2 separate regions of the Homo sapiens genome follow, and region 1 is linked to region 2. The links are contacts of gene promoters, found by promoter capture Hi-C in blood cells and fetal thymus (Javierre and others, 2016). All regions are on one chromosome and are shown on one strand. Each heading gives the region's core, a stretch centred on a gene start or on the middle of the fragment in contact. The rest is flanking DNA. Distances are from core to core; before and after follow the strand shown. Region 1 overlaps HERC4 (HECT and RLD domain containing E3 ubiquitin protein ligase 4). Region 2 holds the start of SIRT1 (sirtuin 1).

Region 1 (4,953 bases), core at 1,021-3,520, 73 kb after region 2:
AGAGGTTCCAGTGAGCTGAGACTGTACCACTGCACTACAGCCTGGGCGACAAGAGCGAAACTCCGTCTCAAAAATAAAAAATAAAAAACAAAGAATAAGGAATGATCTGGCTAAGGAAGCATTACACAAATTCACTTAACTAAGTGATCATGGTATGTGCTCACGAACCAAGGATTTGACTTTTACCATTTAAAACTTTTGTTCTTTTATTATGGTTCTCCCTGAGTTCTTGTTCTAAAATGGAATATCCCATGGTAAAATCACCAAGTTATTAACTTATCGTTTTAACAAAGACCTCCAAAAAATTGGCTTACTAGCTGTTAGTATAGAACACTACAAAAATATTTAGAATACCAAATGCATTTATTTGAACAGAATAAAAATGGTTACCAAGATTTGAAGGTTTTTAATTTTTTAAAATATTTTTAGACTATTAAATATTCAAGCTTTCTTTTCATCCTTTCCTTAATCCTTAGTTGGTATAGTCAGATATTCTATACCAGAGGAAGCAGCTCAAAATCTTTTTTATTTACAGGATCAAATGATAAAGCAAACTTACTGTAACCCTTTAAAGTCATAATATGAATTAGTTTAAAAAATCCTCTCTATAAATGAAAGAACTCTCAACATAAAATGGATGGGAAAGGGTGATAGGAAGGGGAAAAGAAAGAGGAATAGGAGATAATGGTGACCAACCCCAGGAACATGTTTAATACCTTATTATTGAAACTTTCTTCAAGGAAATTTCACATCTTCTTCCTAACGAGATCAAATGCTTCCTACTTTTAACATCTCTCACCTCTAGTGACTTCCATCTCTTACCAAGCATATAAAAAGGGGACATATAATGAAACAAGATTTTGAAACAAACCAACATCTTATCAAGTAAACTAGTAAAACGGTTTATAAAGATTGAATATTTCTGTAATGAAAGAGGCTTATACAATTTTTAATATATAAAATGATTATAGGTTAAGTTATTCCATTTTCACTGCAACCTTTTTTTATAAATGTTCTCATAAGAATATACATATCACATGCAGCAGTCTTCTTTATAGCTACCCAAAGTACTTTGTGTACCTTCATTACTGATCCTAGGAAAATTTCAAATATTTACTGTCCAGAAACATCAAAGAAACAATTAAAAAAAAAAACCCTCTCAAATAATATTTTACCTGCATCTGTAAGACTGCATCGGTCTGTAACAGAGTAGTTTTTGCTTGGGCATCAAATACAAATGGATATGTACAGATTGTAACAGGGATATCTGCCAACTGGAAATAAAAAATTAACTTATTAGTACAAGTTGATTTGTGATATACTTACTGTGGATGCTGACATTTCTTATAAAGTGGACTACATTCTTTGTTTATTCACTCATGTGGTTCTGGAATTACAAATAAAACATGCTGCTTACAGAATTATTAAAAATTAAATGAGGCATTGGAATGAACCCAATTCCCAATTTTAGGGGGCGACTGTATACTTGAGAGTCTATACAATCATATACTGCAAGTATCTTTTGCTTAGCATATGTTAATTGCAAATCTCAGTGAATGAGGTTGCAAATTTGTTCTAAAATTGGGGGCTCCTATGTTAAATGCGATAGCCAATTCTTACATGTTAGGGCAACTGCAGCAACTGAGGCTAATGATAAGTAATCTGTCTATTCCTTCATTTAACAGATATTGAGTATAATGTCATTAGGGTATCAAAATTATTATGAGTCCAATAATCTCTTCATTTACTTAATATACAAAAAAGTACCATTAGTATTACTATTCTGTTAGCCTTTAAAGTTACGAGAACTGATCTATTATTATCATTATTAGACATTAGACACTTTATAGACAATTACTTATCCTGGCAGGTAATATATTGATTGCTAAGTATTTTAATAGTGCAGTAAAATATAAAGAGTTATGAATTGCCAGTCACACATTCTTGTAGTTGGAGGACGACCTACTTCTACCATCTACCCAGTAAAACAATATCTTTGTGCCTGCCCTGACTCAGAGCCCCTGCTATGAGACTTCTAATGAAGAATTAATACACCCTAAAACAATCCACTTCTTAGTGATTAGACAGTTCTTTATAGTCTGAATCTGCATTTTTTTTTCCCCCATACAGAGTCTTGCACTGATGCCGGGGCTGGAGTGCAATGGTGCGATCTAGGCTCACGGCAACCTTCGCCTCTGGGGTTCAAGCGATTCTCCTGCCTCAGCCTCCCGAGTAGCTGGGATTACAGGTGCCTGTCACCACACCCGGCTAATTTTTTGTATTTTTAGTAGAGATGGGGTTTCACTAGGTTGGCCAGGCTAGTCTTGAACTCCTGACCTCATGATCCGCCCACCTCGGCCTCCCAAAGTGCTGGGATTACAGGCGTGAGCCACTGTGCCCAGCCTGAATCTGCATTTCTATATATCACTATGCATCATTTAGTCTTTGCTTTGCCCCTGCTGGGAAGTGTACGTAGTTTAAATATTTTAAGTCCTAATCATGCTCTCCCTAAATTGTATTTTATTACATTCTAAACATTCACTCTTCAGTATTTTTCATGTGACAAGGTTTACCTCCATCCTATATTTGTGGCACTGCCTAGCTAATGATCATAAAAACTAATTTTACTTCTCTGAAATTCAAAAAGATTTAGATATCTCCAAAGCACCCTTTGGCTTCAAAACTCTATGTTTTCATAATTTTATGTGCTAATTCTATTTGACAATGAGGAAGCAAACAATATTAGAGCTATAATTTAAAGCTAACTCAAAATGCTTCATTGGTTCAAGTGCTGGGAAAAACATAGCAACCAACAAAATGCAAATCAAAGCAAAACCTGACATCTATAACGGATAAAGAAAGTATTATAATGTTCCCAAGTGTTAAAAGGGTAGTCTAGGGTTGTTGATTACTTAAACCAAAGTGCTAGAACTTTATATATTAGAAGTGAGAAAGATAATCATACAAAAAGTTTAACTTTGTGACCATTCTGAGTATCAATTAATCAATTTTAAAAATGAAGTTTGTTTTACTTCTCTAATATAAAATGTTTTCAGCCACATTAGGTAGGCATTTGCTAAATTTTAAAATAAAAGTTTGCTTTTTTATATTCTGAGGACACATTACATTTTATACTGGAAGACTTGAGGAGGACAGAAACTATTCTAAAGCAAATATTGTTGAGGCATCATATAGGTGTAATGTTAACAGAATTTCATTTTCTTCAGAAAACTTCTGAAATGTTATACAAGATAATCTCTACAGACTGTATTTTAAAAAATGATACATATATATCTATTTATTTACATTTTTTAACCACACCAAAAAAACGAATCTTTGGCTCTTCTATTACTCAGGAGAAAATGGAGTATATTTTACTCTAAACATGAGCTTTATTACACCAAACTTACCTCAGTTAATCCATGGTTGACATCCTAAGACAGCAGTGCAGAATATAACAATAACGAGGAAAGAGCAATATTAGTGTCCAAATTTAACTATTTCTATTCAAGGTAGCATTTCATATATTTTGCTACAGCAGAATATTGAAGTAATGAGGTAGAAAATACATCTACAATCAAATACACCCCCTACACAAGCATCTTATATATCTACTAATGTAAGATCTTTGTTTCAGGTACCTTGTGATCATAAAATGATTGAGGCTTGAACATAATGAAATTTGTTTTCAGCAATTAAACACCCCCATTTGCAGAATTTAGGCAGAATAAGAAAACTAATCCTATGCCTGGCTTGGTCTTAAAAAAAAAAATTTATGGCTCAGTTTTTCTACTTAAAAAAAATGGAAAAAACATTCCTCAGACTTTAAGACTTTAAAATCTCAGCAAAATGTCTGACAGTGTTTAGTAGATTAAAATGCCATATGGACACAAAGTAAGAAAAAATAAGCCATAAATTGTTTTTATTTGACAGAAAAAAAAACAGTAAAACATAAGGTATCTTACATTAAGCATTCTTTAAAACTGAATTAATTTAAAATAGAAAGTACAGGACAGGGAAAAAGGGTTGGTAAGCAAAAAGAAATGAAGAGAGAAAGATATATTTATTAAGGCAGTAATAGTGGAAATTATAATGAAAGCTTACCACTTTATTGAACAGAAATGTACATTTTCTTGTAGAAAGTTTCCACATATGCTCAGAGCACAGACTCGTGTAAAGCACCAGAATCTTCAGAAATATGTTACTAAATTTGTGGACGGTGCCTTGTGTTGTGAGGAATTAATTTTACCCCAGAAGAGAGGGCATTGCCCTGGGTTACTAGGAGGTGACCTATAGACCTGTGCAATATCATGCCTGATAGGAGTGTCTTTGTTTGCCTGGCGCTTTAGCCACTGGACAATGTGACTTATGATAGGGGCTTGGGCCATGTGCTGTCAGTTCTGCTTCCAGAAGAGCTGGGAACTAGAGGTCACTACGGGAGCAGGATGTGATTGAACCCCAGTAAAAACTCTGGGCACCAGGGTTCTGGTGAGCTTCTTTGGCTAGAAATACTCTGTATTGTTACACATCTATGCCAGGAAAGTAATTCATCCATGACTCTACATGGAAAGGACAACAGAAGCTCTGCCTCTGGTTATCTTTCCCAGACTCTGCCCTGTGTGTTTCTTCCCTTGGCTGATTTTTGTTCTCAGATGGAACTTTCTATTTGTCACTATTAAAAGCCTAAAATTTTTTTTTTTGAGACGGAGCTTCGATCTTGTTGCCCAGGCTGGAGTGCAATGGTGCAATCTCGTCTCACCGCAACCTCTGCCTCCTGGGTTCAAGCGATTCTCCTGCCTCAGCCTCCCGAGTAGCTGGGATTATAGGCATGTGCCACCACGCCTAGCTAATTTTGTATTTTTAGTAGAGATGGGGTTTCTCCATGTTGGTTAGGCTGGTTTCGAACTCCTGACCTCGTGATCTGCCCACCTCAGCCTCCCAAAGTGCTGGGAT
Region 2 (4,889 bases), core at 1,923-4,422:
TAGTACAAAAGAGTTGATACTAACTCCCTTACTAATTGTAGTCACATGAGACTGATATCAGAGCTATTAGGCCAATTTATTTTTTTATTTATTCATTTTTTATTTATTCTTATTTTTATTTTTTTTGCGATGGAGTCTCACTCTGTCGCCCAGGCCAGAGTGCAGTGGCGCGATCCCGGCTCACTGCAAGCTCCGCCTCCTGGGTTCACGCCATTCTCCTGCCTCAACCTCCCGAGTAGCTGGGACTACAGGCGCCCGCCACCACACCCGGCTAATTTTTTGTATTTTTAGTAGACACGGGGTTTCACCGTGTTAGCCAGGATGGTCTTGATCTCCTGACCTCGTGATCCACCCGCCTCGACCTCCCAAAGTGCTGGGATTACAGGCGTCAGCCACCGTGCTTGGCAGGCCAATTTATTAACTTAGGAGAATAGAACTACTAAGTCAGCCAGAATATTAATGTTCTTTTTTTTTTTTTTTTTTTTTTGAGACAGAGTTTCACTCTTGTTGCCCAGGCTGGAGTGCAATGGCACTGTCTCAGGTCACTGCAACCTCCACCTCCTGAGTTCAAGCGATTCTCCCGTCTCAGCCTCCCGAGTAGCTGGGATTACAGGCGCATGCCACCACTCTGGGCTAATTTTTGTATTTTTAGTGGAGACGGGGTTACATCATACTGGTCAGGCTGGTCTCGAACTCCTGACATCAGGTGATCCGCCCGCCTTGGCCTCCCAAAGTGCTGGGATTTATAGGCGTGAGCCACAGCGCCTAGCCTTAATGTTAGTTCTTAACCAGTGGTAGACCAGAAGTCTAATTGGGATTTTTTGTTTTTGTGTTTGTTGTAATACAATTTCTGTTTCTCATTTATCCTACCTGAAAAGCATACTGCATCTCTGACCTCTCAGCATACTAACAATAATATTGATCACATAGCATTTCTTGTAGTTCATAAACTTCACGTGTCAATAATATACTATAAATATAAATGAATTAATGAACAACAGGATGCTCATAAGCTTACAGACATCTTTTTCTCAAAAAAGCTGGGAATTTTGTTTCTGTTTTATTGGGATACTGACTCTCAACATTTCATATATTGCATTCCACCAACGTAGCTGAGAGTCAATTTATGAAATATTTTGTAGTGTAAGACAGAAAGTGGGGAGGACCAAGTATGTCAACCACTAGGAGTGTGGTGCCTAGTCAGGAATTGGGAGGAGTGTAGCAAGAAAGGAAGGACAACAGGATTTGGTCATTGATTGGTCAGATGGATTTCAGAGGGATTGGTATGAAGGAACGCTTCAAAGATTTTTTTTTTAATTTAAGTTCCAGGATACAGGTGCAGAATGTGTAGGTTTGTTACATACTTATAGGTGAGCCATGGTGGTTTGCTGCACCAATCAACCCCTCATCTAGGTTTTATTTATATTTTTTTTTGAGACGGAGTTTCGCTCTTGCTGCCCAGGCTGGTGTGCAATGGTGCGATCTCGGCTCACCGCAACCTCTGCCTGCTGGGTTCAAGCGATTCTCCTGCCTCAGCCTTCTGAGTAGCTGGGATTACAGGCATGTGCCACCACGCCCGGCTAATTTTGTATTTTTAGTAGAGACGGGGTTTCTCCATGTTGGTCAGGCTGGTCTCGAACTTCCGACTTCAGGTGATCTGTCCGCCTCGGCCTCCCAAAGTGCTGGGATTACAGGCAGCAGCCACCGCGCCCAGCCAGGTTTTAAGTCCCGCATGCATTAGCTATTTGTCCTAATGCTCTCCCTCCCCTTGACCCCCACGCAACCAAAGATGGTTTTAAGGCTTCTAGGACTGGAGATGATTACTTTCAGAAATGAATAGTGGTGACCAGATGAAATAAGACTTTTGGATGTAGATAGGACCTTAGCGATATATTTCCAGCTTTTTATTTTTTATTTTAAGGATGAAGAAACAGCTTTAAGTTGGTTGCCTAAAGTCACGCAGGTAATTGATGCAGTATGGCCAGAACCCATACTAGGCTTAAGGGACAGTGTACCATAAACTCGTAGAGGTCCTTTAAACAGATAGAAACGCTGTGCTCCAGGCAGATGCCATAACAAACACTGGCTCTAGATCTACCATGGGTTATATGGGTCCTTAGTTAAGATTAGATATGGAGTCACAGTGTGCCAGAATTTCAGGGAGAGAGGAAAGTGGAAGGGCTTTCCACTAAGCCTTTTGAACTACTAGGTACCCCTCGTTTTACATCTGGTTATCTCATTTAAATCTATGACGTTTTAAAATACTTATTACCATTTAAGACATGAGAAAAATTAAGTTTAGAAACGGCTAGATAGCTCACGCTAGAAAGGAAGGACTCCAAATTTTAACCAAGGGCAGATGTGCATGGAGGCCAAGTCATTTCCTTCCCATGCTCTCATACTGACCCAACAAACCCATTCTGCACGTGAGAAAACTGAGGCCCGGAGGAGGGAATTCACACACGTTTGAAGCCAAGCTGGGGCCAGAAAGTAGATCGGCTGATCTCCAAACCTCCACGTCAAAGGTCTTCCCAGGAGGACATATGCCTTCAAGGATTTTACAATGTATACCACCCTACAAGTGATGGGAGAGAGGGGAAAAAAGCAACCGACTAAGGAGAAAAGCAAGGAGCAGAAAAAGGAGCAAAAGAGGAGCTGTCAGAACGGTGTGAGGAGAGTGGGAAAGGAGCCGCCTCCTTTTGCCTCTCTTCCTACTTATTAACAAAACAGAACGACTATCCAACGTATTTCAGGGAGCTAAGTCTTAGCCAGCTTCAGCTGTGTTTTAACCCTTAGCTAAATATAGACAAGGCTAAGGCAGGCCAGGTGTACACTTCAGGAAGACGTGGAAATTCCCAGGGCGGACCAAAACTTGAGCTGTTCCGGCGGTAGTGATTTGAGGTCAGTTTGAAAGAGAAGTTGAGAAAGCGGCCGAGGGGCGAATTTGGCTGCACTACACGCTCGCCACAAAGAGGAAGGGCCGCCGGCCGCCGGGGCCGAGTGCGCTTCCAGCCCAGGCGGAGCGGTAGACGCAACAGCCTCCGCCCGCCACGTGACCCGTAGTGTTGTGGTCTGGCCCGCGTGGGTGGCGGGAGCGCCGAGAGGGCGGGGGCGGCGATGGGGCGGGTCACGTGATGGGGTTTAAATCTCCCGCAGCCGGAGCCGCGGGGGCGCCAGTGCCGCGCGTCGAGCGGGAGCAGAGGAGGCGAGGGAGGAGGGCCAGAGAGGCAGTTGGAAGATGGCGGACGAGGCGGCCCTCGCCCTTCAGCCCGGCGGCTCCCCCTCGGCGGCGGGGGCCGACAGGGAGGCCGCGTCGTCCCCCGCCGGGGAGCCGCTCCGCAAGAGGCCGCGGAGAGATGGTCCCGGCCTCGAGCGGAGCCCGGGCGAGCCCGGTGGGGCGGCCCCAGAGCGTGAGGTGCCGGCGGCGGCCAGGGGCTGCCCGGGTGCGGCGGCGGCGGCGCTGTGGCGGGAGGCGGAGGCAGAGGCGGCGGCGGCAGGCGGGGAGCAAGAGGCCCAGGCGACTGCGGCGGCTGGGGAAGGAGACAATGGGCCGGGCCTGCAGGGCCCATCTCGGGAGCCACCGCTGGCCGACAACTTGTACGACGAAGACGACGACGACGAGGGCGAGGAGGAGGAAGAGGCGGCGGCGGCGGCGATTGGGTACCGAGGTGCGCAGGGTGCGGGCGGCCGGAACTGCGCATCTCCTCCTCCCTCTCCCCGGGCTCCTACTGGCCTGAGGTTGAGGGCGGCTGGGGGCTCGGGGCAGGCTCCGCGGCGTTCCCCTCCCCACCCCGGCCCTCCGTTCAGCCGCGCTCCTCCGGGGCTGCGGTTCCTACTGCGCGAGCTGCCAGTGGATTCGCTCTTTTCCTCCGTCCGTGGCCCGCCTGGGCGGCCTTGTTCTTTCCGCAGCAGCCAGGTCGGGAGACTCTCGCAGTCGCTTTAAAATAAGTTTCTCTCCCCCTCTTACTCTTTTAGCATATTGCTTTTGTTAGAGCTTTTTTTTTCTTTTTCTTTATTTTTTATTTTCATTGCTTTTCTCCTCTACCCCCCAGCACACTTAAGTCTGCAACTTTTTGGCTGTCCCGTTGGTCTGCGTTTTCAATTGCTTTTTGCAAACTTGACACCTGTGCAGTTTGCTTTTTTTGGTCTATATTTTTATGACTGAAATTACAATTTTTGAAAGAGGAAAGCTGTTTCTATAGTCACAGCTTGCAAAATTTAAAGAACGTGGCTGTTCCTGAAGACATTACCATTCTGTAATGCAGTTAGGAGTGGGTATGGGAGAGAGAGTACTTTTAGAGCTGTTCATATTACTTTTATTCTAATCTTGCTCTTGTGCGGTAATGGTGTTTGGGCTAAACATGCTTTTTTTGTATGTATGTAGTATTGAGACACAAACTTAACACTTCTAGCATAATGAAGCAGATATGTTGCAGTTGTCATGTTCTTGAAGGTTTCTTTTTTTTTTTTTTTTTTTTTTTGAGACGGAGTCTCGCTCTGTCGCTAGGCTGGAGTGCAGTGGCGCGATCTCGGCTCAGTGCAACCTCCGCCTCCCGCGTTCAACCGATTCTCCTTCAGCCTGCCGAGTAGCTGGGACTACAGACACCCGCCACCACGCCCAGCTAATTTTTGTGTTTTTAGCAGAGACGGGGTTTCACCATGTTGGCCAGGATGGTCTTGATTTCTTGACTTCGTGATCCGTCCGCCTCGGCCGCCCAAAGTGCTGGGATTACAGGCGTGAGCCACCGCGCCCGGTCAGGTTTCTTATTTTTGATCTGAGGAGTTTCTATCCTTGATAGGTGTTCATCTTTATCAATATTTGGGTCAGGCCGGGCGCGGTGGCTCTTTCGTGTAATCCTAGCACTTTGGGAGGCCAAAGCGGGAGGATC

The links. The method cuts DNA at HindIII sites, captures the fragments that hold promoters and counts their contacts. A CHiCAGO score of 5 or more calls a contact.
Region 1: a contact is called between a fragment that was not itself captured here and the fragment with the promoter of SIRT1 in region 2, in 1 of 17 cell types (M1 macrophages). The highest score is 6.4, in M1 macrophages.

What each region holds. Positions count from the first base shown.
Region 1 is chr10:67,955,703-67,960,655 of GRCh38, forward strand. It overlaps HERC4 (HECT and RLD domain containing E3 ubiquitin protein ligase 4), which reads right to left. Exons shown (of 25, transcript NM_015601.4): 17 at 1,176-1,274. Among named protein-coding and RNA genes, the nearest start is that of SIRT1, 74 kb to the left of the region's middle. The HindIII fragment of the contact is 3,653 bases long and covers 445-4,097 here.
Region 2 is chr10:67,881,484-67,886,372 of GRCh38, forward strand. SIRT1 (sirtuin 1) reads left to right here and starts at 3,173. Exons shown (of 9, transcript NM_012238.5): 1 at 3,173-3,668. The coding sequence starts at 3,239. RefSeq lists promoters at 853-3,238, 2,209-3,240, 3,028-3,239, 3,066-3,241, enhancers at 2,689-2,748, 2,769-2,928 and silencers at 3,009-3,548, 3,049-3,233, 3,668-3,962, 3,759-3,878. The HindIII fragment of the contact is 7,021 bases long and covers 1,012-4,889 here.